4 separate regions of the Homo sapiens genome follow, and all the other regions are linked to region 3. The links are contacts of gene promoters, found by promoter capture Hi-C in human tissues and cell types (Jung and others, 2019). All regions are on one chromosome and are shown on one strand. The core of a region is centred on a gene start or on the middle of the fragment in contact, and the rest is flanking DNA. Distances in the headings are between cores, read along the strand shown. Region 1 overlaps IMPA2 (inositol monophosphatase 2). Region 2 holds the start of CHMP1B (charged multivesicular body protein 1B). Region 3 holds the start of TUBB6 (tubulin beta 6 class V). Region 4 overlaps LOC101927511 (a long non-coding RNA gene).

Evidence for each region. Contacts are between HindIII fragments. The study calls those that stand out against the background at their distance.
Region 1: a fragment that was not itself captured here is called in contact with the fragment with the promoter of TUBB6 in region 3 in 1 of the 25 tissues and cell types used here (pancreas).
Region 2: the fragment with the promoter of CHMP1B here is called in contact with the fragment with the promoter of TUBB6 in region 3 in 1 of the 25 tissues and cell types used here (IMR-90 fibroblasts).
Region 4: a contact is called between a fragment that was not itself captured here and the fragment with the promoter of TUBB6 in region 3, in 2 of the 25 tissues and cell types used here (IMR-90 fibroblasts and pancreas).

Annotation. Positions count from the first base shown.
Region 1 is chr18:11,990,591-11,998,443 of GRCh38, forward strand. The region is part of intron 1 of IMPA2 (inositol monophosphatase 2); the gene reads left to right. Among named protein-coding and RNA genes, the nearest start is that of IMPA2, 13 kb to the left of the region's middle. RefSeq lists an enhancer at 5,220-5,269. The HindIII fragment of the contact is 3,794 bases long and covers 3,475-7,268 here.
Region 2 is chr18:11,848,550-11,855,518 of GRCh38, forward strand. CHMP1B (charged multivesicular body protein 1B) reads left to right here and starts at 2,864. Exons shown (of 1, transcript NM_020412.5): 1 at 2,864-5,895. The coding sequence starts at 2,963. The coding sequence ends at 3,562. All of the region lies in intron 5 of GNAL (G protein subunit alpha L), which reads left to right. RefSeq lists enhancers at 2,717-2,956, 3,225-3,274 and a silencer at 3,281-3,575. The HindIII fragment of the contact is 16,832 bases long and covers 1-6,969 here.
Region 3 is chr18:12,302,628-12,310,219 of GRCh38, forward strand. TUBB6 (tubulin beta 6 class V) reads left to right here and starts at 5,614. Exons shown (of 4, transcript NM_032525.3): 1 at 5,614-5,722; 2 at 6,060-6,168. The coding sequence starts at 5,666. It also overlaps the pseudogene RNU6-170P. RefSeq lists silencers at 5,100-5,589, 5,680-5,779, 5,800-6,149. The HindIII fragment of the contact is 9,027 bases long and covers 263-7,592 here.
Region 4 is chr18:11,929,067-11,936,860 of GRCh38, forward strand. All of the region lies in intron 2 of LOC101927511 (a long non-coding RNA gene), which reads right to left. Among named protein-coding and RNA genes, the nearest start is that of MPPE1, 25 kb to the left of the region's middle. The HindIII fragment of the contact is 7,294 bases long and covers 1-6,061 here.

The DNA.
Region 1 (7,853 bases), core at 4,122-6,621, 310 kb before region 3:
GTGTGGCCCTTGGGGGCTGTGAGTTGGGGTGGACTTGATGAGTCGTACATTGAAGGAGACATAGGAATAAAGGACTTCTGGGTTTCTGGCTCATGCAGCTGGCTGGCTCTCATTGCTTTTGAGAGAAATGTGAGCTGGAGAGGGATTAGGAAGTAATCAATTGTGACGGCTCCAGCCGTGGGGTCGGCTCTGTTTAGCGATGGTGGACTTGGACTGTGGTGCTGGGAACCCCTTCCCTATACCTTACAGCTGCAGGGCCTTGGGCAACTTTCTCCATTTCTTTTTGCCTCCGTTTCCTCATCTTTAACGTGGAGAATAATTTTTGCTGTCCTCAGAGTTACTGTGTGGAATAAATGTACATGTGAACTGCTCAGAACAGCACGGGGCAGAAGAAGCGCTCTGTAAGCTTGAGCTCAGGCCGTGGAGCTGGGCAGGGTGTGAGGTGGAGGCCATCTCCAGGAAGCTCAGCTGCTGAAGGCAGGTCCGAGGGCTTGCAAACACCCACTTTCAAGGAATAGTGGGAGGGAGATGAGCCGCAGAATGGTGGGGAGATAGGAGGAAAGCCACGAGGGGAGGCAGGGGCCACAGGCCACGGGCCCTGGAACACAGGGAATGCAGCTGGGATGTGGGTGACGGGTGGCTGCTGGCATTGGTATGGAAGGTGCCAGTGCCTTGTCAGGGCGGAGGGCGACTAGAGATCAAGGTGAGGGGAAAAATAGCCACGAGACTAAAGGAGGCGTTGAGGATTCGAGAGCCTGAGGTGGGCTGGCCTGGGAGCCACGTCTGCTTGGACCAGCTCCTCCTCTTCCTCCCAGGGTTGAGGTTGTACAGAGATTTGTGACGCATCAACAGCTGTGAACTGCTGACCACATGTGCCACATGACACCATGTGATAGGCGTGTTATTACCTGGGTACCCGATGAACTGTTAGGTTTTATTGATTGTCACACGTATCAGGTTCTTCAGAGAAACAGGACCGGCAGGAGGTGGGTGGGTCCAGTCTGCAGGGTGGGCTGGCAGCTGGAGACGCGGAGAGACAGCTGATGTTCCAGTTTGAAGGCCATAGGGCAGGAAGAGTTGTTCATGTGGACAGAGTCCCAAGGCCATTTGCGGAGAACCCCCTCTTACTTGGGGGAGGGTCAGCCTTTTCATTCTGTTTGGGCCCTCAGCTGTTGGACAAGGCCTGCCCACAGGAAGGAGAGGGATCTACTTTCCTGATTAAGATGCTGATGCCCTCGCAGAAACACCCAGAACAATTTTTTTTTTTTTTTGAGATGGAGCCTTGCTCTGTCTCCCAGGATGGAGTGCAGTGGCGTAATCTTGGCTCACCGCAACCTCCACCTCCTGGGCTCACGCGTTTCTCCTACCTCAGCCCCCTGAGTAGCTGGGATTATAGGCGTGTGCCAGCACACCCACCTAATTTTTGTATTTTTAGTAGAGACAGGGTTTCCCCATGTTGGCCAGGCTGGTCTCGAACTCCTGACTTCAGGTGATCTGCCTGCCTCGGCCTCCCAGTGCTGGGATTACAGGCATGAGCCACCACGCCTAGCCCAGAACAATGTCTGACCAAGTATCTGCGCTCCACGTAGCTCAGTCAAGTTGACACATAAAATTAACCATCACAACACATTCACTTGTGTTGCAGTAAATCTGGAAGCATAAACATGGGGCGTGTCGTCAGGTGCACACCTCCAGTGGCCACATCTTCCTGACCTGACAGAGGGAAAGACACATCTCCTATTGAAACTGCACTCTGGCAAGGCTCCGGCGTGCTGCTCTGTGGATGATGCACAGGGCCTGGGTTCCAGAGCACATGCCAGCTGCCCTGCAGTGACTGGCATAAAGGTCGGATGGGGACAGGAGCACAAGAACAAGATGGGGTGAGACAGGAAAGATAGTTGGACGTCTCCATGAATATGTTAGCCTAGGATGTCTCTGAAGCTGGTTGATGGTGACCTTTCCTTTTAGATTTGAAATTCAGGCTTCAGTGACTTCAGGCCCATATTTTATATGTTATACATTAACAGAATGCTACTGGAAGGAGAGACCCGAGCCAGGGGGGTCTGTGAAGTGCATGCTTAGTTAGCGAGTAGCTGAAAAACATTAATTAAAAACCAGGATACCTAACTCATTGCTGGTGGAGTGAGAGTGTTTAAAATCTCTAAGACTGAGGGAAAATAGCCGTGGTAAAGGGGTTCAGCGGGACCTTACCTGGCAACCCCATGTGCTCCCTCGCCCTGTGGACGTGATCCTGGCTAAAGGGCAGGGCTGTTTGAGTCTCGCTTACTGATTTTAGAAATACAGCACTTTTCCTCACTTTTTCTCTTAGCATAGGACAATTCGTGAATTAAACTTTTCTTAACCTAGTATTTTAGCATCCTATTTGCAACGTGTACATTGTATGTACGGTAGGTTCTTATTTTTTGTAACAATACAAAAATTAGCTGAAAAAGTCATTAGATTTTCTCAGATACATGTTCTCACAACTGATACTGGTGAGGTTCTGTGTGTAAATAAGTTTGTGGACCAAGACCTTTTCATACAATACCTCATGTGATTCCTAAAACAACCCAATGTGTTAGATACACTGTTATTACAGAAGAGGAAATGAAGGCCATGAGAACCCATATAGAATTTGAATTTAGAGCTGTCTGATTCTGGAGTGTACTTTATCCCTCTCTACTCCCACTGATGTTATGAAACTGCTGAAAACAAGAATTACATCCTGGAAGGGAATTTTTCATACCCATCTTCATGAAGAGCTACAGGACAAGGCTTCTGACTTTTTTTAGGTTAGCTTAGTGTCATTGTCTGTTGGTGACTGAAGGAAGCTAGCTGGCGCAGCCCCCATGTGTGCAAGGCCCCCGAGTACACCTGATAGAGCCCTATCTGGTGTATATGGGTGCATGTCGCTGGCATCAGCACCCTGCCGGGGTGAGGGTAGTTCCTGGAGCTACTGGGATGAAATGCAGAGCTCCCAACCTGGAGGAGTGCATGGCCCAGTGGAGGAGACAGGGCAGTGACCAAGTACAGTGGACTGTGCAGTAGCTGACCCAGGAAGAGGGGCCTCAGCCAGGGCAGTGGGCGGACGGCCACACGGGCGACCTCCTGGAGCAGCTGTGCTGGAGTAGATGGAGGCTGAGAGCACAGACAGGCAGAAGGTGGCCAGGGATGTCATTGCAGGCACAAGGGATCGTGTCCAAAGACATGGAGGTACAGGAGGGAGGACACTCGAGGGGGCTTGAGCCTGGCATGGGGCATGCTGCCCTGGCTGGGTGTGAAGGGCCTTGCACACCTGATGCAAGACAGCAGCCCGATTGTGAGGCCAGGTCTAGTGGAAGAGGCTGGCCACAGGGTCACCTGCCCTGCTGGTAGGAGGTACAGGCATGTTCGAGCCCCATGGCCTTCCTTATGACACACTCACAAAGAAAGTCATCAGAGAAACTGCAATAATAAATATTAATAAAAGCAGAAAACAGTTAATATTTTAAAAGATTATGAAGGCTAGGTGTAGTGGCTCACGTCTTAATCCCAGCACTTTGGGAGGCCGAGGCGGGAGGATCACTTGAGGCCTGGAGTTTGAGACCAGCCTTGGCAATATTGTGAGACCTCAGCTCTACAAAATAAAAATAAAAATGATCCGGGTGTGGTGGTGCGTGCTTGTAGTTGCAGCTACTGGGGAGGCTGAGGCGGGAGGATTGCTTGAGTTCAGGAGGTCAAGACTACAGTGAGCCAAGATTGCGCTACTGCACTCCATCTGGGGCAACAGAGAGAGACCCTGTCTCAAGAGAAAAATAACAACAGAGCATAACACAACACAGCATCCTGCCTCTGAATCCACTCTTCCCACTCTGTAACCCATGACTCGGCCCTGTTTTCCTGGCGGACACACCCAGATTGCAGCATTCTCCAAGCTGCCCCAAGGGCCCCCAGCACCCGCCTCCTCCACACACACAGCTGTGTATGTTTTGAATGTGGAAAACTGAGTGTATAAATACCAGTGAGCTTCGATAAGGTGACACAAAAGGACATATTACAAAATCTTCTAGCATTTAGTTAACTGTGAGCTCAGTGTGCAGCAGCCAAGGACTCTTTATGCATTCACTCAGCAGGTGTTCCTGGAGACCCCCATGAGGCAGCCCCCATGCAGGGTGCACCATGGCCTGTTGGAGGTGGACAGAGACAGAGAGGGTAGGGTTCCTTACCCAGGCTGGTTGAGCAGACACATGGAGTGATAAGTGCTGTGGGTGCCAGTTGGTGGCTTGTGTAAGTGCTGTAGTCACAGTTGGGTGAGTGCCCCTCTGCCCGCAGAAGCTGGAGGCTCCTCATGTGGAAGGTGATGTTTGAACTGAGTCATGAAGGAGGAGGACAGTGGGCTGGCTGAGGCGGTTCCATCAGGAGACTCCAGGGTTAATGATTCCATGTGACAGGGCCATGGCATTCTCAGAGCTCGGAGGGGAGGGGAGGGGAGCTGAGAAAGGGGTCGGGAAAGGCCCGCAGCTGCTGAGTGGATGGTTTGTTTGGTTTCTTCACAGAGGCCAGTAAGAGGAGCAGGGGAAGTCTAGTTAGTAAGAGGTATGGGGTGGGGTGGTCTGCTCCACAAAGTCATCCAGGGATCCAGCTTTGTCCTCCCTCATTGCTCCGAGGTGTTTCTTCCTGCATGGGCAGCACCACACCTACTTTGTAGCCTGTGGTGAGGGGGAATGGGACACGAGGAAGTGCAAGGCAGTATCCTTTTGAGGATGTGACTCGGAAGTTGCAGGTCTTGCTTTCAGTCCCATCCTCTGGGGCAGAACTTGGTGCTGAGGCCACACGTATCCGCGTGGTGTGCAGATTGCAAGGCAGCTCTGTGCTTGCTCCAACTTGGAGGTTCTGTTCCTAAAAGGAAGAAGGGGAGACTGGACGTTTGGGGTCAAATGGTCTCTGCTACAAGGGCAAATCTGGAAGCTATTTTATGCTCCCTTCAGGGGTTTTGACTTTATCCACATAGTGACAGGGCGCCACCAAGTGCTCTGCTGGGGAGACGCATGGTCACCGTGACCATGTTTTAGGAAGTGCGTCTGGCTGTGCCGGGAGAGTGGGTCTGAGTGCAGGAAGCAGATCTGGTCTAGCTCCAGGAGGTGGGACTTGTGGATGGAAGCACTGGATCTTTTCAACAGGGCAACCAGAAAAACAGCCAGACAGAAGGACCTGGGTGGTCAGCACTCACACAGACACTAGTGTTCCCGTTTGGAAAAATGTTACAGTCTATTCAAGCAGCCCAATGTGTGTTTTATTCATTCTTTCAAAGAACTCTGTGTACCTGCTGTATGTGTATCTGCTGAATGCCAGGGAGCATTCCTGATGCTAGGGGTACAGAAGGGAAGCAGAAAGAGCTCTGCCCTCAGAAGCCTCTGCCTAGGAGAGACAAACAGTCAACAACAAAACAGACAGGAAGGACGAAGGGAAGTAGAAAGAGCTCTGCCCTCTGAGCTCCTGCCTGGGAGAGACAGTCAAAAACAAAACCGACAGGAAGGATGGTTTCAGATGGGATATGGTAAGTTGTAGAAGGATCAGAAAACAGGAAGTCCTTGGGGGCAGAAACAGATTTGGTTAGGATCAGTGAGAAAACCCCAGAGCACAGCAGGAGAGCAACTTGGGGCTGACCTGTCGGAGGTGAGCTGTGAAGGGCTCGCCCTGGGATTTGGGATTTGGAGTTTCCCAAGGGCCCTGGGGTTTGGGATGTGTTCTGTGAGCAGCGGGAAGCCGTTGGATCATTTTCTGCAGTACAGTGATGTGATGTAATTGGTGTCTGAAAATTCCCCATCCAGCTGCTGCGTAGAGGCTGCAAGTGTGGACGAGTGGAATACCAGCCACCCTTGCAGGTAGCTTTATGGCTGCTCCCCATGTGGGGATGCCACAAGCATGAAGTAAAGCCACTGTCTTCTCAGATGGTGGTCCTGGGTTCAGAACCCACCACCACCTGCCCACCCCGCCCGCTGAGGTGGAACATCCTGGTCTCCTAGTGGCTCTCTTCACGTGGGAGTTTGAGACTCTGCTCTAGCTCCATGCTACTGAAGTGAGCACCCCTGCATCAGGGTCACCATAGAGCTTACCAGAAATGCAGCTCTCAGACCCCAGTCAGACCTGTGCAGCACAGTCTGCCCTTCCTTGATGATCCCAGAGGCTCTGCTGCCATATCCTCTCTGGGGCTGTGTCCCCTGGTTAGGCTGCCTTTCTCACCCCAGCTCTATGCACACACTCCCCACAACCCCACACCACACCAACACACACACACACCCAGAAATCCATACACACCCAGAGATACACACAGAGACACACATACCCTGCATCTTCCCACACCACACCGATACACACACACCCAGAGATAGACATACAGACACACCCTGCATCCTCTCACACCACAGCAACACACACACACACACAGAGATACACACAGAGACACACACCCTGACTCCCCCCATACCACATGAACACACACTTACAGGTACACAACAGAGACACACACACATCAGGAATCACCGTGGCCATACATGAGACAAGCTTTGTGCCGAAGGCCTGTCTGGCCAGCTCAGGGTTGAGGGTCCTGGACCATGGGCAGATGCTACGGGAGCCACATGTGAGGAGTGTGAGATTCACAGACAAGGCCTGTGGAGCTTGATTTGTTGAGAGTCCTGTGTGCAAATTGGTGATTTGAGAAAATTGACCTGGTGGCAATGAGCAGGAACTAGGAAACCCTGGCCAGAGGCAGGGCCTGGGCAGTGGGAGCTGGAGGCTGTCATAGGAATATGAAGTCCTGGAGTTATGGCTACCCAGTGGACATGGCTATGTGGACGCTGTATGCTTTTTTTGGTATGACCTATCACATTCTGAATTTTCTATAACATATATCTGTTTTTTTTGCAACCAAGATTAAAACAAAAACTGCCTTGGCTCAGTACAGCGTGGGCCAGCTCTGGGATGTAGGCAGTGAGAAGAGCAGGCAGCCCCGTATGGGGAGGAGCACATGGGAGGCTGAGTTTCGGGGGCTCCTGCCTGTTCTGTAGAATTCCCCGTGTGCTTCTTCTGGCAGCACAGGGCCTGGCATGAGCGGGTCCTTGGTGTGTGCTTATCAGAAGACGTGATGGATGTCACGTCCGGGCACCTGGCCAATTGATGGTCCTTTTGAGAGAAATACAGGATTCTGGGATGTAGCTAGTTTAGGAAGAAGGCTCTGAGTTCGTTTTTAGGTGCCCTGACTTTGTCATCATGATGAGGGAGACACCAAGTTGTTAAGACAGACAGAAATGGGCAAGAGCTGGGCGCGGTGGCTTACGCCTGTTATCCCAGCACTTTTGGAGGCAGCAGTGGGAGGATCGCTTGAGCCCAGGAGTTTGAGATCTGCCTGGCTAGCATAGCAAGACCCTGTCTCTTCAAAAAATAAAAAATGAGCTGGGTGCAGTACCATGTGCCTGTAGTCCTAGCTATTGGGGAGGCTGAGGTGGGAGGATCACTTGAGCCCTGGGGTTAGAGGTTACTGTGAGCTGTGATTGTGACACCACACTTCGGCCTGGGTGACAGAGAGACCCAGTCTGTAAAACAAAACAAAGCAAAACAAAACAAAACAAAAAGGAGAAGAAAGGCCTGGGCTGGACCAGAACTGGTCCCTCTGGAGTTGTCCAGGGACTGATTAGCCACTCTTTATCCCTTCCTGTTTGGGTTTTCCTGGGGTTCTTGGGACCATCCCAGTCCTTGCTCCTATGTATAGCTGTGATGGGTTTAGACCAGTGTGTTGGCAGCTTGCACAGCTGCGGAGCCTGTGTCGGAGCTCAGCCCTGTGGATCCTTGCATGAACTCTGAGACAGCTGATGCTG
Region 2 (6,969 bases), core at 1,614-4,113, 460 kb before region 3:
CAGTTCAAGCGATTCTCCTGTCTCAGCCTTCCAAGTGGCTGGGATTACAGGCATGCACCACCACACCCAGCTAATTTTTGTATTTTTAGTAGAGACGGGCTTTCCCCATGTTGGCCAGGCTGGTCTTGAACCCCTGGCCTCAAGCGATCCACCCACCTCAGCCCCCCAAAGTGCTAGGATTACATTCCTGAGCCACCATGCCCAGTCAACAACCACACTTTATAAAGTTCATATTAACTTTGCAGTCAATGCAACTCTGTCTTCTCAAAAAAACAGCTGGAAAGTCAACTTCTTTCTTTAGGCTACATGATGATCATTATTTTATTCTTATTAATTCATGTTCATTGGATTCCCCATTGCCTTATTACTGGTCCCAATACATCCATGGAATCCGGTTTCTAACACTTACCTAATGTGTGGGTTCAGGCAAGTTTCTTAGCTCTCTGTGCTTCCTTTTCATTACCTGTGAACTGGAGACATTTATAGTATCTACTTCATAGGGTTTGCGAAGCTGAAATGAGTTAATTTATGTAAAGTGCCCAGAACAATGTCTGGTGCATAAGTACTTTATTAATGTTAGTTGTCATTATCATCATCATCTATCGGAGTCTCTCATGATTATATTCCAAACCATCTCACCTAGTCAGAATTTGTCATTAAGAAAACTATGGGCTGGGCACGGTGGCCCACGCCTATAATCCCAGCACTTTGGAATGCCAAGGTGGGCAGATCAACTGAGGTCAGGAGTTCGAGGCCAGCCTGACCAACATGGCGAAACCCCAGCTGTACTGAAAATACAAAAATTAGCCGGTAGTGCTGGCGTGTGCCTGTAATCTCAGCTACTCGGGAGACTGAGGCAGGAGAATCGCGTGAACCCAGAAGGGGGAGGCTGCAGTGAGCCAAGATCACACTACTGCACTCCAGCCTGAGTGACAAAGCAAGATTTCATCTCAAAAAAAAAAAAAAAAAAAAGAAAGAAAAGAAAAAAGAAAACTATGGAGCATGACATGGAAGCTGGATAAGAAACTTGTTTGCAAACTCCAAGAAAAACCAGGACCTAAAAGAAGGGAAGAGTGGAATGGAGGGTGAGCAGAGTAGGGGGCCTAAGCTCTCTATATCCACTTTGAACAGATTTCTTCCCCTTTTTTTTGGTTGTTTATATTCCATTTCTAGAAAAGTTTCATTTGGAAAAAGGGTTCTACTGCTTTGCGGGGCAAAAAGGAACCATAGCTAAGCTGCTAACTAGGGTAACATCCTATCCCCTCTGAAATACAATTAAATTCAGCAACGCCATCTGGATTCAGTGGCTGCTGTGTGCAGAGCGCCTGCTGGGCTCCATGGAGAGGGGAAGGAATCAGTGTCTGCATCCAAGTAGTTCACACTGTAACAGGTGACCTATACACACAGACCCCTTGCCAGGCAATGTGCCCTGTAGTATGGCCACACAGAGGAGGAGTCCTGGGGAGGCTCCATGGTGAAGGTGGCTTTTGAAGGACTGGCAGGGTGTCAATAGGCAGAGATGCATGGACACTAAAATCCAGGCAACAGGAACAGCATAGCCACAGGACCGGGCGTCAGTCACATTCTCCCCGCTGGCCGAATGACGCAAATAATGCTCAAATTCCATGCTGCGGTTTGCTTTGACTGGCGGAGGTGGAGGGGCGCGAAAGACGAGCCAGCATGCTGCACAGCAGGTTTAGCCTCCATGCCCGGGGTTTGGAGCAAGAGAGTGAAAACATCAGAGCTATGTCTTCAGAAGGTCTTGTGTTGTGAAACTGACTGGCAAGCTATCACAGGAAGCTAAGCGAGGTGGCAGGCTGCTAGATTAAAATGATCTCTAAACAGAATTCGCTCTCAGAGTTCATTTTCAGCCTACCTCATTAGGGCAGATTTGGTCTTCTCACATTGTTATTGCTGTATCGGAGGAATCTTTCTAAAGAGAAAAGTGACAGCACACATTGCTGCCATTTGAAAGCCAGCATTTTTAAAGGGCGTAATACATAGTGACAGTTTTGATGTATGCCCGTGGGTGTGGGTCCTGATATCTCAACATACTCTGCCTGCATAATTTAAAATGACAGTTTAGCCTGTCAAACTTAAATGTGAGTGAAGTTCCTTGGATATTTATAAAACATCAAAAAGACAGAATGGTGTCAGCAAAAGATGGGTCTTTTTATTACTAAACCACGGGACGATTTTTGGATAATTGCTGGCAACTCACCTAGAAGCTGAACTTCCAGACAAAGTATAAATTTGGTGGTGCCACAGTTTTGAAGATTATTTTCACTCAATGCAATAAAAGGATATTACAGAACTCTAGCACAAATTGTAGTCAAAGATGGAGACGCGTCAATGACCCGTTTGTTTTTAATGTGTTTTAATGTTTTTGTTTTTAATGTATCCATGGTTTCCAGTTCCCCTGAGAAAGTGGAAATTACCCATGCTAATAAAGCAAGCGTTAGTGCGAAGACCTAGCTGATGTTTGGCTGGTTTTTAGCCCGCTAGCCAGTCACCCTTTATAAAGCCTGCCAAGTTTGGAGCGTGGGTAATTTTACACGCGGGTCTCCACAGATCCTGTCTACTTCGGTAGATTTATTACTAGGAAAGTGCGTGGGGGCACTAATTTTTGTGAATTGACTAATGCGTTAGAATTTTAAAAACCGGGTAGAACGCAGCGCAGGAAGCGAGCGTTCCCCGCCGCAGCGCCGGAGCGTCCAGCCAGAATCCCCCTGCATGCGCAGCCCCTGGCGTCTTACGTCCCACAGGCCCCACCCCGGCGCCTTCCGTCCCGCAGGCTCCGCCTTTGGCGCTGGGCTCTGACGTCACCACCTGCGCCGCTCACAGTAGAAACAGGAAGTGGGACCAAAACAAAGGAGCGGCGGCCGGGAGCGGACTTACCTTACCTTCTCTGCCTTCGGCGCGCTTCTCAGCCGGGCCGCCGACCCAAAGGAGCCGTCCGACTATGTCTAACATGGAGAAACACCTGTTCAACCTGAAGTTCGCGGCCAAAGAACTGAGTAGGAGTGCCAAAAAATGCGATAAGGAGGAAAAGGCCGAAAAGGCCAAAATTAAAAAGGCCATTCAGAAGGGCAACATGGAAGTTGCGAGGATACACGCCGAAAATGCCATCCGCCAGAAGAACCAGGCGGTGAATTTCTTGAGAATGAGTGCGCGAGTCGATGCAGTGGCTGCCAGGGTCCAGACGGCGGTGACGATGGGCAAGGTGACCAAGTCGATGGCTGGTGTGGTTAAGTCGATGGATGCGACATTGAAGACCATGAATCTGGAGAAGATTTCTGCTTTGATGGACAAATTCGAGCACCAGTTTGAGACTCTGGACGTCCAGACGCAGCAAATGGAAGACACGATGAGCAGCACGACGACGCTCACCACTCCCCAGAACCAAGTGGATATGCTGCTCCAGGAAATGGCAGATGAGGCGGGCCTCGACCTCAACATGGAGCTGCCGCAGGGCCAGACCGGCTCCGTGGGCACGAGCGTGGCTTCGGCGGAGCAGGATGAACTGTCTCAGAGACTGGCCCGCCTTCGGGATCAAGTGTGACGGCAGAACCCGCTCTGAGGTTTCCTGGCCATAGCCACCCTTTGAAATGCTCTCTGTGTGTTAGAGAGATACTATACCCTAGAAACTCTGAACACGCCAGAATGCTGAAATGCCCTTCTACCTTTGGGTTTACAGCCCCCTCCACATAAATTAAGAAATTCAGTATTTCTGCACTCTTAGCTGGATTCTAAAGTTCTGTATAGCTCGTAATGATGGTATTTTTATAGCAGCCTTTTAACAGAACTAGTTAATTTCGTGTATATGAATCTTTCTCGAAGATCTGGTCAAAACTGTATTCAGTTTCCTGCCCAGAATGATCAGATTGAAGGTGGTTGGTTTTTATTATTATTTAGTGTGATTGATAGTATCTAGAATGGCAGGTGGTGCATAAAAGTTAAAGAGAGGGGAAAGATTACTTAGTTTGGTTATACAGTTATAAACACCATGCAGTGTATTCGGTGGACTGTGCTATTTCTGTTTATCCTTTGGGTTTTGGTTTTTGTTTTTTTTTTTTTTGCCTTCACAGTGAGACTGCAAATGATTGTTCTCATAACGTATATTATTAATAAATGTGGTCCTATAATTTATACTGAAATTACCTTAGGATATTTTTGCATAATACTCTCTTACTGCTTACATTCTATAAATTTTTCACGTGATAATTGTCTTTGCGTAACTGGGAAAAATGCCGAATAACTTCCTTTATTATCTGGAAAAATTAAATTTGTTCATTTATATTTTCTACTTACTAAATTGAGTTTTTAAAAAGACTTAGTGTGACATTTGACAGTGTCTTTCAAACGAACTTCTCTAACAAGTTTATAGTTATTTTCCTGTTTCAACACTATTAGAAGTCTTATAAATTATGCTAATTAGCATGGCAGTCATGTTACACACTCTTAACATTGCCAAAGAACTGTTGATTTCGTTTGAGAAAACCCTAGGACTGTGTGTGTGTAGGTTTTGTTTTGATTTTAACAACCAAAAATAGAAATAAAATTAGAACTGCGTTTTAAGTTCTAATTTGCATTTATTAATTTGTCCAAAAGCAAGAACTCTTGGAAATCCTTGAAAATATAAGCTGGAATGTTTTACTTAGCCATGCAAGTCATTTATGTATACATCCAGCCAGCTGGAAATCTGAGAAGTAAAGAGGTAGGACTGGAAGGAAGGAGAAAGCTTGAGTCTTTAAGGCTAGAGCCCAGCTGTGCTGCCTGCCATCTTCTCAGGAATGGCAGTGCGTATTTTCTGGCTGAAAAGTAAAGCATGTATCCACCGCTTTCTCATAGCCTCGAAACATGGAGAAAAGCAACTTGCTTTTGCCTTGGCAAGCATGCTAACCTAAGTTAATTCAAGTTTTTTTTAACTTACCCTTTCCTTCACTGGAAGATTTTTCCATAAGAGAATTCCATTGTTTCAGAAAATAATTATAGGGGCCCTTCCAAGTTCTTTGAAAGATTCATAACCAACTATTCACTATTATAACATGTTTCCCAGTGTAAATGAGTAAGGAAAAAAAAAGTGTAACAGGTGCGTGCAGATGAGGAGTGACCCTCATATTTAAGTTATTTTATATTTGACTGGACATTGTTCAGAAGTGTGCTTTAAGGGACACTTGTTAGTTGTCTGCCCAGCATCTCTCAAGAATATCCCTCCTGTCCTCCACATGGTTGTGCAGGGCCATGTGTGAAGACAGCATGAGTCTTAACCCCTCTTTTATTTTATTTTTGAGACAGAGTCTCGCTCTGTTGCCCAGGCTGGAGTGCTGTGGCGCGATCTCTGCTCACTGCAACCTCCACCTCCCGGGTTCAAGTGATTCTCCTGCCTCAGCCTGCCGAGTAGCTGGAATTACAGGTGTGCACCACCATGCCCAGCTAGTTTTTTTGTATTTTTAGTAGAGACAGGGTTTCACTATGTTGGCCAGGCTGGTCTTGAACTCCTGACCTCAGGTGATCCGCCCACCTCAGCCTCCCAAAGTGCTGGGATTACAGGCATGAGCCACTGCACCTGGCCTTAACCCCTCTTTAGATTGGAAAAAATAATTACAACTTTAAAAATAGCTTAGTGTTGAACCCTTTGGTAAACTAAAGACCCTTTTATAATGCACATATTCCCAACAAAATTAATATATTTTGTGAGATTAAACAATGCTTGTATATGCTTGAACTTTCTTAAAATATGTCCATGTCATACTATTATGAATGTACATTTTTATGAGTCATAAATATTATTTTCAAAAGCACTACAGGCCCATGAATTACTTCCTCACTTTTGCAGTTGATTACTGAAATGTAAATCACAAGAATTTGTCAATTAAATCATTTTAAACTGCATGTTATTGGATGTGAGTGTGCATCCTGTTTTAAAAAACACTTAAGAAAAAAGAATTGCGGGGCACAGTGGCTCACGCCTGTAATCCCAGCACTTTGGGAGGCTGAGGTGGGCAGATCACCTGAGGTCAGGAGTTTGAGACTAGCCTGACCAACATGGAGAAACCCCGCCTCTACTAAAAATATGAAATTAGCTGGGCGTGGTGCTGCACACCTGTAATCTCAGCTACTCAGGAGGCTGAGGCAGGAGAATTGCTTGAACCTGGGAGGCGGAGGTTGAGGTGAGCCAAGATTGCGCCATTGCACTCTAGCCTGCGCAACAAGGATGAAACTCAGTCTCAAAAAAAGGAAAAAAAAAAATTCTGAGGTAGATTTGGGTCAGAAAGCATGATATTTTTCCAAATTCACCCTCAGTCTTAGCACTTAAATTTTTGTTTGGTTAGTATGGCTTTTTCTTGCATATTTCTAGGATCCCTGGCTTATTTTTGTTGTTGCTGTTTTGAGACGGAGTCTCACTGTCGCCCAGGCTGAAGTGCCACCACGATCTCGGCTCACTGCTGCCTCCACCTCCCAGGTTCTAGCGATCCTCCTGCCTCAGCCCCCTGAGTAGCTGGGACTACAGATGCGCACCAACACACCTGGCTAATTTTTGTTTTTGTTGTTGTTGTTGTTGTTTTAGTAGAGTCGGGGTTTCACCATGTTGGCCAGGCTTGTCTCGGACTCCTGACCCTCAAGTGATCCGCCTGCCTCGGCCTCCCAAAGTGCTGGGATTACAGGCGTGAGCCACCGCGCCCGGTCCCCTGGCTTCTTCACTGTAATTGTTTCTTCATAACTACAAGATTTTTTTTCACATTGAAACTTCCCTACACCAAAGATGGATATAATTTACAAAAGTATCCAACTGAAACACATCAGGGAACTAGTTAACTAGTTAATCTTCCATTTAACTACTAGTTATATTTCTTCCTTTCATTTTTCCGCCTTCAAGTGCACAATTTCTAACATGGATTTAGGATTGAAAGAAAAAAGGTAGACTGGATTAATTCACAAAATACTTTCCTCTACTTTTAGTTTATT
Region 3 (7,592 bases), core at 4,364-6,863:
TGGACGTATAGAGCCAGATGTTCACTGTGTTCAAACAGGGCCCCATGGTGCAAACAGGAGTTGCTAAAGATAAGAGGATCAGTTTGAGGGCTGGGGCCAGCTCTCCAACGTGGTCCAAATCAGCAGAGAATTCTGAACGACCCATCAAGAAGTTCTCAATTCAAACCTAGCCTACTAGAGTGACATGAAAGTACATGTTTGTCAAAGCATGAAAATAAAACATACTATTAGTAATATTCCATAACTTTAAACACAGTCATGTGCCCTGTGGGCCCCCATCTGCATACTTACCCTGGGCCCTGCAGATGTAGGGAGGGCCTGTGGTCCACACCCAGCCTCCAGCGAGGGTTGTCTTGCCTGTTTCACACACCACCCTCAGCGTTGGGTGCTCTGGGACCCCACGTTACAGCTGAGGGTCTCAAGGTGCACCGAGGCCAGTCATATGAACTACTGGCCCGTCATAAAGCACATGACTCTAGAGTCAGGCCCACCCCAGCAGTCTGACCTGACAGCCCCGCACTTTGCAGCTTCCCAGAGCCCCTTGTACTATGCTGGGTTGTCCCTGTCCCAGGCACTCCCTGGGACTCTCTAGAACAGGCTCCTCTCATAGCCATTTGGCCTGTGAGCATGGTTCTCTGGTTGATCAAATATTATTATTTTAATACTCTATGTGAAATATTATTTTTCTTTAAAAAAAAATTTTGGCCAGGTGCAGTGGCTCATGCCTGTAATCCCAGCACTTTGGGAGGCTTAGGTGGGCAGATCACGAGGTCAGGAGATCGAGACCATCCTGGCTAACACGGTGAAACCCCATCTCCACTAAAAATACAAAAAATTAGCCAGACGTGGTGGCGGGCGCCTGTAGTCCCAGCTACTCCGGAGGCTGAGGCAGGAGAATGGCGTGAACCTGGGAGGTGGAGCTTGCAGTGAGCCGAGATCACGCCACTGCACTCCAGCCTGGGCCACAGAGCAAGACTCCGTCTAAAAAAAAAAAAAAAGAAAGAAAGAAAATGGACAAGTCAACAGCCAAGTAGGGCGTGTACTTTTGTAGGTAAAAAGTCTACCCAGTAGCTGTTTGGGTGACAGTGTTTTTGCTTACCGGCATCCACTTCTGTCCTTTTTCCAAGATCATGAAATGCATCTCAAAAAAAAAAAAATTTTTTTTAGGCCAGGCACTGTGGCTCACACCTGTAATCCCAGCACTTTGGGAGGCTGAGGCAGGAGGATTACCTGAGGTCAGGAGTTCAAGACCAGCCTGGCCAACATGGTGAAACCCTGCCTCTACTAATAATACAAAAATTAGCTGGGTGTGGTGATGTGCGCCTGTAATTCCAGCTATTCGGGAGGCTGAGGCAAGAGAATCACTTGAACCCGGGAGGCGGAGGTTTCAATGAGCCAAGATTGCACCACTGCACTCCAGCCTGAGCGACAGAGTGAAACTGTGTCTCAAAATAAATAAATAAATAAATATGAAACGCTTCATGAATTTGCATGTCATCTTTGTGCAGGGCCACGTTAATCTTCTCTGTATCATTCCACTTCTAGTATACTGCTGCCAAAGCAAGCACGAAATATTATTTTGCAAAAGAATTAGAACCCAAGAGAATACATTTAACTTGACTGCGCAAACACAGTCTAGTGTTTAGCAGATCCCCGGGCCGCCTTTATAAACTTTGACTCCCCCATTTGTAACCAAGACTGCTCAGGCCGACTGACCTAAGAACACCATGGATCATGGTTACATTCATCCGCCCATCGATACTGGCCCCTGTGCCCACTCACCAGATCAGGAGGACCATGGCTGCTCTTTCCGGGAGAACCTGCAGAGAGTAAATTCTGACAACGCTTCACTGAAGGCGCCAGATAGCAGGAGAGCTTATTCTCAGCCTAACTCAGAACTGATGCCTGCTTGCCTGGCTTGCTGCTGGGAGCCGCAGGTTCCCTTCCCCAGCGAGGCAGTGGGGAGCAGGAAGTGTGTTCCAGTCCTTGAAGTCCACGTGGCAACTCCCAGGGCCTAGAGAGAGTCAACACTGGGGCACCCCAGCCTTCCCAGCCTCCCCATGGCACCCTCCCACTCTCCACTTCTTGTCCCGGCCTCTGCCTCTCCCTGCACAGTTGGCAGGTGAAATATCCACTTCTTTCTGGAGAAACTCCATATTTTATCTACCAAGAGGAACGTCACATAAAAACACCAGGGTCTGATGTCATTCATTTTTCCAGATTTGGGGGTTTAGTTGAAAATAACACCACTCACGGCCATTACCAGCCTAGTTCAAGAGCCCCATTGGCCCCTCCGGGTCCCCTTCCCCAGGGACTTCTCAGCATTTGGGGAGGACGAGACCCTCCTGTCTTATTCCTTGGTGCAGCCCAGAAAAGGGCGAGAGAGGAAGAAACACTCATCAGCCATCTCCTACGGTCCAGGTGTGTGTAAACACCAGCATTCAAATCTGGGCAGTGAGCCCGGAATCCTCTCTACACATGCATGAAACAGAAGGAGGCGTTCAGAGAAGCAAGACTGTGATCTAAGGCACAGAAGAGACGGGCAAGAGGAGGAGGAAAGTGAGCAGACAGGAGTGCACGGGTAATGTGGCTCGCCCAGAGCACCAAGTCATGAACGCCATCACTGCCTTCGACCCAGGTGAGGGGCCTTGTCCTTGCCTGCCCCCTCCCTACAGGGCCACTGGGATGAGCCCACAGCTCCTAGATGGCACCTCAGCCCCCCGGACCTCAGGAGTCCCTGCCCAGACCTCCCCAAACCTACTCCTAGGGCCCCTTCTTCCCGCAGGGTGGCCTGGGATGGCTGTGAGTGGCTGAGGACTGAAGTGTCCACAGGCATGTACTGGAGACCCATCTCGGCGTGGGACAGAATTGGAGGTGGGGAGAAAGGCGGGTGTTGAAAGTGAGGACTGCAGGCTGAGACCAGCCCCCGCACTTCCACGCCCTGATGCAAATCAACGAGGAGCCCAAGAAGTCTACCGATTTCTTTTTTATTTTATTTTATTTTATTTTTATTGAGACGCGGTCTCACTCTGTCACCCTGGCTGGAGTGCAGTGACATGATCACAGCTCACAGCAACCTCCACCTCCCAGGTTCAAGCAATCAATCCTCCCACCTCAGACTCTGGAGTAGCTGGGTACAGGCATGTACCACCATGCCTGGCTAATTTTTTAACTTTTTGTAGAGACAAGGGTCTCACTATAATGCCCAGGCTGGTCTCGAGGTCCTGGGCTCAAGCAATCCTGCCATGTCAGCTTTGGAAGTTTTGGGATTACAGGCGTGAACCACTGTGCCCGGCCTAGCCTGAGAATTCTAAACTGGAACCTGGCTTTCCAGATACCATGGTGTATTTTTTAAGGTAGGAGAAGAGAATGTGTCCTCTACGCTTTTTTAAGTTTGGTTTGCGGCTTGTGTGCATTTGGACACACCGCGTCACAAACAGCCTCGCCCAGGAGGAGTGAGGGCCACAGATCGGGAGGGTAGGGGGCCCAGAGCCTGGAGAGCCCCAGGCCGGGCTCACAGGTCAGGGTTTCACCTGCCGGCTCCCAGAAGGGAGTGGCCAACAGACACCAGGGAAGTCAGGGTTGGGATTCAAAGAGAGGCCAAGGCTGCAGAGAGACTGGGAGCCACTTTAGGAAAGAAACGTGAATTCAGGCTTTGCACAGCAGAACTGTCCCCATGTCCTGGGGAGGCCTTGGTTCATTCTGCGGGGAAATCCCTTGTGTCTTGCGGGGCCCCGCCTCTGATGAGAGGGAAGGGAGATAAGCTTTGCAGGGGGAAGGTTTCCTCCCGGTCTCCTCACTCTTCGAGCACTGAGTTTCTCCAGACAAAGCGCACTCCGCGGGCACCAATCCCTGCAGACAGCGCAGAGCGCACAGCGAGCAGGAGCCCAGAAACCAGCAGGTCGGCTTGTCCCTTGTCAAATCCAAGTGACAACGGACTTCCGGAAGCCACGCTGACACCTACTTTCTGGCTCGATCAGACCCCTGGACTTAAATTCCAGCCCAAGGGCTAGCACTGAAAGGGTGGCTATTTCAGCAAACGACCAAAGCTTCTAAAGTAGACACTTTCTTTTAAACCACTTGATGGCTGGATTTCTTAGAGAGAGAGACTAAAGCTGGAGGAAGGGTTCTTCCAGGGATGGCACAGGCCCTCCGCTCTCGGGCTCCCCACACTAGACTTCGGGCCGGCAGGATGGGTTAAGGTAGCACTCGTTGGAGTCAATAATTAAGCAATGGAAACAAACAGCCTAAATAAGGGTGTTGAGGACTCAGGAGAAGGTGGCTGATTAATCTCAGGCTCATAGTTTGAAATGGGAGCGCAGGGGCTGGGCTGTGGCCTCCTCATCTGCTCCCTGGGCGTGTGGCTGTGTAAAGAGGTGTGGGGACCCACAAGAAGGCCGAGGAGCAGCACTGGGGTGGAGAGAGCAGTGGGGAGGCGGGGACCCAAGGGTTAAAAAAAAAAATTCCTCAATTTGGAAACATTTGCAAAACTCCAGAAGAAAAACTTTTAAAAGTTCTCCACTCCCTTCCAAACGTACAAACATGCACACACACAATTAGGAATTTCCCAAAGTTTTCATCTGTCTAAAAAGAAAGTGCCAGTGCAAATTACAGAACATCGTCGCTTCCTCATGTGCGGCGTTTCTACGGGCCTGGGAGGGGACGCAGAGGCTACCCCGGTGGTCCCAGCCTGCAGCGTTCACGTGAGGAAACTTCCGCAAAAGCCCTGATGCATGCACATTCTGACTGCAGAGGCCAGAGCATCCCGCATTTTGGAGGCTGAAAGGCTCCCCTAGGATAACCTTTTCCGTTAACAGAGGAGTCCGCTGAAGCGCAGAGCTAACTGAAAACAGCTAGAATTAAAATCCAAGTCACCCGGCCGGCATCAGCAGTCATTCCTTTCCACCACACAAAACTGGCCAGGAAGACGGACTCTGGCGCGCCCTCCCAGGCCGAAGCGCATTTCTTCGCTAACGCGCGAGGAGTAGGCTGCATAGACCCGGCGCAGGAGGTGTTCATTTTCGGATCCAGCCCTGTAGTCACTTTAGCTAAACCCGGTTCCAAAGGGGTGGGAGTCGTCGGAGAGGAATGGCCTCTGTATCTCCGGAGACGGAAACACCAGGACGAAGAGGCCCTAAGAACGTGTGCCCGGGGTGCGACCGGGGGGTGGGGGGCAGGGGGCAGAGACCCTGAAAAGCTCCACCGCCGAACCCCAGGGCAGTGTCCCGGCTTGGCTGGACTGGGCGCGGGCGGCTGCAATGCTCCCGGGCGCGGCGCTGGGACCCCGCGGGCCACGTCGGCTCCGCTGCCCCGACGCCAGGGCCCGACTCGCGTCTCCCTCTGGCGGGGCACCACAAGGGGCAGCGAAACGGTGGTGGGGGCGGGCGCCGCGCTCCTTCCCGTCTCCTCCCCGCCAGCTCCGGGCCCGTCCTTTTCCGCCCGGCTCCCGGCAAGGGTCCCCCGACTGGCGCCCGCGCGTCCTCCCTCGGCTGCTGCAGGCCGGGCCGCGGCGTCGAGCGGGGGCGGCGGGGCGGGGCCCGCAGCCATTGGCGAGCGGCGGGGCGGGGGCGGGGGCGCGGAGGGTCGGCCCCGGGACGCGCGCAGCCGGCCCGCAGTTGCCGCTGTCGTCCGCAGAGCCAGTTCCTAGCGCAGAGCCGCGCCCGCCATGAGGGAGATCGTGCACATCCAGGCGGGCCAGTGCGGGAACCAGATCGGCACCAAGGTGGGCCTGGCGCGGTGCAGGGCCTCTCCGCGGGTCGGCTGCTGGCGGGCCCCGGGTCTCCCGGCGCGACCCCCGCCGGGGCGCGCACCCGCTGTGCGCCCCTGGGTCCTCGGAGCCCGGTGCGGACCCGCGAGGGCCGCAGGGAGGGAGCGCCCGGGGCGTGGCCGGCCGGGGACCTTCTACTCTTCGCTCCCCACCCCCATCCCAACTGGGAGCGGCTGCCGGCGGCTCAGGCGCGCCTGGAATTCGGCCGCCGGGGCGCCTGGGGTGGGCGCGGGTGGCGGCGTCCCGGGCTCTGGGTTCTGAGCGTCTGTCCCCCCGCCTTGCCCTGCCCAAGTTTTGGGAAGTGATCAGCGATGAGCACGGCATCGACCCGGCCGGAGGCTACGTGGGAGACTCGGCGCTGCAGCTGGAGAGAATCAACGTCTACTACAATGAGTCATCGTGTGAGTAGCAAGGCCGCCGCGCCCTGCCCGGCCGGGACCCGCGTGGACGCTCCGGCGCCGCCTCTTAGCGCGGCGAGTTTGCTTCGGGAAAAGTTCTCTCGGGGTGTAGCAGGATGCCCGGCCACTCCCTTCGCTCCTCCGGGGCGGGAAATCCGCCGTCAGTTTATTCAAACAGCTCGATTCAGCCTATCCTGAGGGTCTGAGCGCTTGAACGGGACCACCCGTTAGCGTTGTGAAATCAACGTAGCGGTTCCTGCCCAGCCTTCTCTGTCTAGCCGGGCGCGGTGGCTCAAGCCTCTAATCCCAGCGCTTTGGGAGGCCGAGACTGGAGGATCATTTGGGGCCAGGAGTTCAGGACCAGCCTGGGCAGCATAGGAGACCACCCCCCGCCCCCCTCCCGCCCCGATCTCTACAACAATTTTAAAATTAGCCGGGCTTGGTGGCCCACCCCTGTAGTACCAGTTAACTGAGGGCTTGAGCTCAGGAGGTCGAGGCTGCAGTGAGCTGTGATCGCGCCACTGCACTCCAGCCTGGGTGACAGAGCGAGACCCTGTTAGAATAAATTAGAGCGTTTCTCAAGGATCCTTGGGAAAAACAAAGCTTCCCCCCCCCCCCCCCCAGTTTAAAACGTATCTCTTATTGGGGATTCTTGGCTAAAAATTTGAGAAACGCTCTCTTAAGTGACTTTTCTGGTCCCTTGCAGACCTCTAAAAAGACTTTAACCTCCCTGGAAGCTGAAACTCCAGGCAGTTCTCAGCAACGAGTGGAGTTTTATTCATTTACGCAGCAATGACAAAAGGCTGGGAACATCAGGGCATGGAAGATGAAATTTCTAGAGGACACTAAGGATAGTTCCAGTATACACTGCACTTCATGTTAATCCCTCACCCAGCTTGGGTACATCCATTTTCGATCTTGGCGAGTGCACTGCAGGACAGGAGTTGAAGAGCAGGTCCTATCTGGAATCATATTAACCGTGTCCTCACCGGGAACAAGTTCTAGCCCAATTGGCATGAAATTTCCACACAAGAACACTCTGACTCAAAATGAGAGTGACTCTGGGGAAACAGCCAGTGGCGTGCTCCGGGTAACAAGGTTCTCAGACTGCACATGGGCACATGTATGTGTATGCATGGGGGAGGTGTCACAAAGCAGAGAATTTCATCCAAACCTGGCAATTTGCTGTAAATACCTAGTTTATTTCCATGGAGCTAAAGTTGTAAAACTTCCTAACAGGAAAGAGGTGTCAGGGTGAGCTGGAAAATACAGTAGGCAGGAAGTCAGGGGACTTGATTTCTCATCCTGCCTCTTCCTGGAACCTCCTCTGCCAGGTCATGCCTGGACTCGTTCCTCATTCCAGTGTTAAGGTTCTAGGATTTTTTTTCTTTCTTTTTTTTAAGAGACAGGGTTTCGGCCAGGCACGG
Region 4 (7,794 bases), core at 1,165-3,664, 380 kb before region 3:
CCTGTTGCCCAGGCTGGAGTGCAGTGGCATGAGCTTGGCTCACTGCAAACTCCGACTCCTGGGTTCAAGCAATTCTCCTGTCTCAGCCTCCTGAGTAGCTGGGATTACAGACATGCGCCACCATGCCTGGCTAATTTTTTGTATTTTTAGTAGAGATGGAGTTTCACCATGTTGGTCAAGCTGGTCTCGAACTCCTAACCTTAGGTGATCCACACGCCTCAGCCTCCCAAAGTGCTGGGATTACAGGCGTGAGCCACTGCGCCCGGCCAGTAGTGAAAGTTCTAAGACACCGGATCATTTCCAGATGATAATCTGCAAGTGACTCATTGACTTGCACGGCCCTTCTGAGACCGTTAAGGAATTTACTTCCATGAATATTGGGAGGAATCTGTGAGGCATTCACAAAGCAGAAATAATAATGATATAGGCCAGGCATGGTGGCTCACACCTGTAATCCTAGCACTTTGGGAGGCTGAGGCAGGCGGATCACTTGAGGTCAGGAGTTTGAGACCAACCTGGCCAACATGGTGATACCCCATCTCTACTGAAAATACAAAAAAATTAGCCGGGCATGGTGGCACGTGATTATTCCCAGCTACTCGGGAAGCTGAGGCAGGAGAATTGCTTGAACCCGGGAGGCAGAGATTGCAGTGAGCCAAGATCACGCCACTGCACTCCAGCCTGGGCAACAGAGCAAGACTTTGTCAAGGAAGGAAGGGAGGGAGGGAGGGGAGAGAAAATGGAGCTGTGATTGTTCTGTTAGATCATGCTCTGTAATTAATAGATGCCATAATTCCAAGACCCAGTAAATGCATTATGAAAATAATCATGATCTGCATTAGTTTTACATAAACATGCAAGAGTCTAATTCTGTTTTTTTTTTAATTTGTTGTTGTTTTTGAGACAGGGTCTCACTCTGTCTTCCAGGCTGGAGTGCAGTGGTGTGATCACAGTCACTGTAGCCTCTATTTCCTAGGCTCAAGCAATCCTCCCACCTCAGCCTCCCAAGTAGCTGGGACTACAGGCGTGTGCCACCATGCCCTGATAAAGGAGTCTGATTCTAGATACCCACACTTCCCCTGCTACCAAACTGCCCTCTGGTTACGATGGGGAAATTCTGAAGCACCTCATTTCTACTCCTGTCCTCCTCCCCCTTCCCCCTCTCACCTTGTACCACTCCTGACACTGACAGCTATTTGGGATGTGGGAGAGGGGCACAGATGGAGACATCCTCCCCCAAGCTGCATTCAGTCCTGTGATTTAAATGACCAGCCTATCAGTGATTGGTGGATGGAATTTATAAGCCATGAGCATAAAGTCACTGCACGCTCAGGTGATTTGTAAACAGTCTCTGGGTGGAAAAAACACATTTGTTCCAAGTGCTTTTCCGATTCTCTTGCTCAAGAACAATCATCACAGAAGTCTTCTGTGAGCAAATGTGGGGAGGCGGATTCCCCACACACCAAGCAAGCAAGTAGTTCTGCATGGACACCCCCTGGGTGTCCTCCAATTCAACTCAGTTCTGACACTCTGTACCTGGAGACAGCATCAGATCCCACAGGTTGAGGCCTCGGTCCCCAGGACTGTCCCACTTCTGATGTCAATCAAAAGCCCCAGGCTGTAACCTGTGCTTCTGGCAGACCAGATATGAATTGGGGTTCCCACAACCCCCTCCGTGGGTTTAATTGATTTGTTAGGAGGGCTCACAAAACTCAAGGAAACACTTTCCTTATGTTCACTGGTTTATAGTAAAGGATATTGCAAAGGATACAGATGAAGAGCTGCATAGGGCAAGGCATGTGGGAAGGGACGTGGAGCTTCCATGCCCTCCCCAGGGCCACCACCCTTCAGGAACCACCACATGTTCAGCGATCTGGAAACTCTCAGAACCCAGTCCTCTTGAGCCTTTTATGGAGACATTATTGAATAGGTGTGATTGAGGACAACTGTGCAGAAATGCGATTGGACAAAAGGGGAATGATCTAATAGTAACAGACTGAGAAACCCAGCAAGGCTCAGCTGTTCAGGTCTTTCTTGCCCTCTCCGCGGAGCATTCCTTCCTCTAGGGTGTGGGACAGGACCCTGTCTGCAATGAGGGTCTTATGACCCACAATCAGAATCGAGTCCCGCCTTGGGCAGGAGAAATTCAGAGAGATTCTGTTTCCCGAGGCCTGCTTCTGAGGCCTAAAGACTCAACATTATAAGGCCAGGCATGGTGGCTCATGCCTGTAATCTCAGCATTTTGGGAAGCCGAGGCGGGCAGATCACTTGAGGTCAAGAGTTTGAGACTAGCCTGGCCAATATGGTGAAACCCCATCTCTACAAAAAATACAAAAATTAGCCAGGTATGGTGGCTCATGCCTGTAATCCCAGCTACTCCAAAGGCTGAGGCAGGAGAATCGCTTGAACCTGAGAGGCGGAGGTTGCAGTGAGCCAAGATGGCACCACTACACTCCAGCCCAGGTGACAGAGCAAGACTCTGTCTCAAAAACAAACAAACAAACAAACAAAAACTCAACATTATAACAAAAGACTGTAATAAAGGATATTATAAGGGAGAGTCAGGAATGGTGAATGAAAACCTATAAATATGTAGGTTTCTTCAATGTAGAAAAACTGCACAATGATAATGTCGTTTCACAATCGGTCAGTAAACGCTGAAATCCCTCTAAGTGTCAAATGTGCCTATGCATCTTTGTTACAGATACCCAGTCATTCATTCCAAATACAAAAATTTTGACAGCGTGAGGAAATATGGTTCAGAAGGAAAAAAAGTTTGATCATGTAACTATGATATGATTTACTATTTCCTCAAATCTAAGACATCATGAACTGTAAGATGAACCACTATTTAAGGCACATTAAGAAAGAAAAAAAAGGATGCACATCGCCTAGGGTCAGACTCACTGCAATGCATGTCTTAGATGAAATAACCCAGCTTTAAATAAAGAAGGGCGGCCAGGCGTGGTGGCTCATGCCTGTAATCCCAGCACTTTGGGAGGCCGAGGTGGGTGGATCACGAGGTCAGGAGTTAGAGACCAGCCTGGCTAACATAGTGAAACACTGTCTCTACTAAAAATATAAAAAATTAGCTGGGCGTGGTGGCGGGCACCTGTAATCCCAGCTACTTGGGAGGCTGAGGCAGGAGAATCGCTTGAACCTGGTAAGTGGAGTTTGCAGTGGGCTGAGATTGTGCCACTGCACTCCAGCCCGGGCAACAGTGCAGGACTCTGTCTCAAAAAAAAAAAAAAAAAAAAAAAGGGCTATTTTCTCCAGAGGAGAGTAAGGATCACAGATGCGTTGATATGTGAATTATTGGCACATGTATTAGCAAACCTCTGTTATCTCACAGCTTCTGAGTGTTTGGAATTCAGAAGTGGCTTAGCTGGGGCACCTGGTGCAGGTCTTTCCTGAGGTCGCAGCTAAGCTGTCAGCCAGGCTGCAGCCACCTGGGCCTGGAGGCCCTGCCGCCACGCTCATCCACATGGTTGTCGGGAGGCCACGCCGCCGTGCTCAGCCTCATGGTTGTCTGGAGGCCCTGCCGCCGTGCTCATCCGCATGGTTGTTGGGATGTCGCAGTTCCCCCCAGCTGCTGGCTGGGTACCTTGCTGCTCCGGAACGGACTTCTTGCCAAGTGGGCCTCTCCATTGGCAGCATGAACGTCTCCCCAAGCTGGCAGAAGCCACAGGCTTTTATAGCCCCATCTCAGAAGTGACACACATTACTTCTACAATATTCTACTGGCCACACAGACCAACTCTGATAAAGTATGGGAGGGAGCTACACAGGGCATGAATATCAGGAGGCTGGGATCATCGGTTATGCTATGGAGAGGCTGGTTACTGCAATACATATTACAAGAGGGGAAGGGAACCTGAAGCTAATTTGTTTTTTGTTTGTTTGTTTGTTTGTTTTGAGACAGTGTCTTCCTCTGGCACTTGGGCTGGAAGGCAGTGGCACGATCATAGCTCACTGCAGCCTCAACCTCCTGGGCTCAAGTGATCCTCCTACCTCTGCCTCTCAAAGCACTGTGATTACAGAAATGCGTCACCACATTTAGCTAATTTTTTAGAATTTTTTGTAGACACAGAGTCTCACTATGTTGCCCAGGCTGGTCTTGAACTCCTGGGTTCAAGCCTTCCTCCTGAACTGGCCTCCCAAAGTGCTGGAGTTACAGGCATGAGCCACTGTGCCCAGCCTGCTTCCAGTTTAGGTTAACATTTATTGAGCACTTACTAAAGCTTAGAAGGGTTAAGTAAACTATCCAAGGTCACAACAGCTAGTAAGGGTGAGAACTGGTACTTGTGACTTTTGACTAATACACTACCCAGCCTTTGTGTCAATGTATATTATTATAACATGTCAACCACTGAAATTTTCTTTTCTTTTTTTTTTTTTTTTTTGAGACAGAGTCTCACTCTGTTGCCCAGGCTGGAGGGCAGTGGTGCGATCTCGGCTCACTGCAACCTCCGCCTCCCGGGTTCAAGTGATTCTCCTGCCTCAGCCTTCTGAGTAGCTAGAAATACAGATATGTGCCACCATGCCTGGCTACTTTTTTTGTATTTTTAGTAGAGACAGGGTTTCGCCATGTTGGCCAGGCTGGTCTTGAACTCCTGACCTCAGGTGATCCACCCGGCTTGCCCTCCCACAGTGTTGCAATTACAGGCATAAGCCACCACGCCTGGCCAACCACTCAAATTTCAGAAGAAAAATTTGAAAACCTCCAAGATTCTTTATATTTCTCTACAATTGTGTGTGTGTGTGTGTGTGTGTGTGTGTGTGTGTGTGTGTGACAGGGTCTCACTCCATCACTCAGGCTGGAGTGCAGTGGCATGATCTCAGCTCACTGTAGCCTCAACCTCTCAGGCTCAAGCAATCCCCCCCCACCTCAGCATCCTGAGTAGCCGGGACTACAGGTGCACACCATCATGCCTGGCTAATTTTTTTGTGTCCCCTGTAGACACAGGGTTTCACCATGTTGCCCCAGCTGGTCTCAAACTCCTGGGTTCAAGCCATCCACCCACCTCAGCCTCCCAAAGTGCTGGTGAGAGCCACCGCACCCAGCCTGTTTCTTTCTTTCTATCTTTTTTGAGACGGAGTCTCGCTCTGTCGCCCAGGCTGGAGTGCAGTGGTGCGATCTCGGCTCACTGCAAGCTCCGCCTCCCGGATTCACGCCATTCTCCTGCCTCAGCCTCCTGAGTAGCTGGGACTACAGGCGCCCGCCACCAAGCCTGGCTAATTTTTTGTATTTTTAGTAGAGACGGGGTTTCACCGTGTTAGCCAGGATGGTCTTGATCTCCTGATCTCGTGATCCGCCTGCCTCTGTCTCCCAAAGTGCGGGGATTACAGGCGTGAGCCACCACTCCCGGCCAGCCTGTTTCTTTACTATTGCCATCACCACTAATTCAGAGAAAGTACTCTCTTGTGTTTTAATGCCTTTAAAGTTTTAGTTTATTTAATTTGTTGTAGTAATTATGTATAATTATAAAAATATCTAGTGTAATGGACTGACTGTACCTTAGCAAAATAAATGCAAAAAATATGAGCATAGCTGGCTGCCAAAACACTTGCTCAAACAATAGTAGGTATCATTTTGAAAAATAGACAGAAGGGGCCGGGCGCGGTGGCTCATGCCTGCAATCCCAGCACTTTGGGAGGCCGAGGCGGGTGGATCTCCTAAGGTCAGGAGTTCGAAACCAGCCTGGCCAACATGGTGAAACCCTGTCTGTACTAAAAATACCAAAAATTAGCCGGGCGTGGTGGCAGTGCCTGTAATCTCGGCTACTCAGGAGGCTGAGGCAGGAGAATTGCTTGAACCTGGGAGGCAGAAGTTGCAGTGAGCTGAGATTGGGCCACTGCACTCCAGCCTGGGCAACAAGACCAAAACTCTGTCTAGGAAGGAGGGAAGGAGGGAAGGAGGGAGGGATGGAGGGAGAGAGGGAGGAAGGAAGGAAGGAAGGAAGGAAGGAAGGAAGGAAGGAAAGGAAGGAAGGAAGAGAGACCAGCAGTGGCTCATGCCTGTAATCCCAGCAGTTTGGGAGGCTGAGGCAGGCGAATCACAAGGTCAGGAGATTGAGACCATCCTGGCTAACACGGTGAAACCCCATCTCTACTAAAAATACAAAAAATTAGCCGGGTGTGGTGGCAGGTGCCTGTAGCCCCAGCTACTCAGGAGGCTGAGGCAGGAGAATCGCTTGAACCTGAGAGGCAGAGGTTGCAGTGAGCTGAGATGGCGCCACTGCACTCCACCTGGGTGACAGAGCAAGACTACGTCTCAAATAAATAAATAAATAAATAAATAAATAAATAAAAATTAAATAAAATAAAAAAGGAAAAGAAAAATAGAAGAATAAAGTAAGGACCTTCAAGAAAAACTGGAACAATTTCCTCTGAAGAGCGAATAGTCTCAGTTGATAGTATTTAAAATTATTTTTATAACTTTACAAAATAAATATAAGACAAAAAGATTGCTTTTGATTTTAGCACAGAGATGCTCCAATATTATCTCTAAAAACTGTCAAGAGTAGAGGTGTAATCACATTCCGTCTATGTAGCAACAACTGAAAGTGCTAAAACTTCCCAACTCCGTGAGCAGGAAGTAAGCACAGAGAGTCCTGACTCCTCTGTGATCCAAGTGCTGATCACTTCCCAGACATCATTTGAACTCACTCTACAAAGAAGCAGGTCTGTAGTTTATGAAAGTAGTTCACTAGGCTGGGCGCAGTGGCTCATGCCGGTAATCACAGCACTTTGGGAGGCCGAGGTGGGCAGATTACGAGGTCAAGAGATTGAGACCATCCTGGCCAACATGGTGAAACCTGGTCTCTACCAAAAATACAAAAATTAGCCAGGTGTGGTGGTGGGCGCTTGTAATCCCAGCTACTAGGGAGGCTGAGGCAGGAGAATGGCTTGACCCCAGGAAGCGGAGGTTGCAGTGAGCCGAGATCGCGCCACTGCACTCCAGCCTGGGCGACAGAGCAAGACTCCGTCTCAAAAAAAAAAAAAAAAAAAAAAAACAGAAAAAAAAGAAAAGAAATTAGTTCGCTAGTTTCCAGTTCATGTTACACAAAGCAATTTTCTTAAATTCCTGAACTGGAGCCATAACTGTGGAAACACTGCAGTCACATCCCAAGGAAAATCAAAGATGTAAAGTTACTAACTGTTGGAACAAACTGGCTCCAGCTGTAACCAAGCAAAGAAAGTAATGTGCCCTGAATCAACTTACTGTCAAATCCTCTCCTGAATTATTAGCAGGGCATGGTGGTGTGCACCTGTAGTCCCACCTACTCGGGAGGCTGAGGCAGAAGAACTGCTTGAACCCAAGAGGTGGAGGTTGCAGTGAGCCGAGATTGTGCCACTGCACTCCAGTCTGAGAGAGCGAGACTCCATCTCAAAAAAAAAAAAAAAAAAAAAAAATTCCTCCCCTGAGCAGGCAGAGCTGGCGAAGTTCAGCCATGGGCAGAGCAGGCTTGGGCCCAGGGATTGAAAGCCAGGGATTACCAGGCCAAGAAGTCGAACAGTCCAGACTACCACACAGTGAGGGCGCTTCCCAGGGGAGGGGTGGAGGGGCCTAGAGTGCAGGTGTGGGACCATGGCTGGGGAGGAGCAGGAATGCCGGTGCCAATGCAGGGCTCAGCAGAAAGCAACCAGATGGTTGTCAAGAAAATAATTGATCCTGAAGACAAATCCTAGACCAAGTGTGCACACTCTAAGCCCAGGTCCTGATTCTACCCTTTCCAGCTCTCCAGAGAGCAGAGGCCCCAACAGTCTGGCCAGTTCTGAGCCCGGCACCCA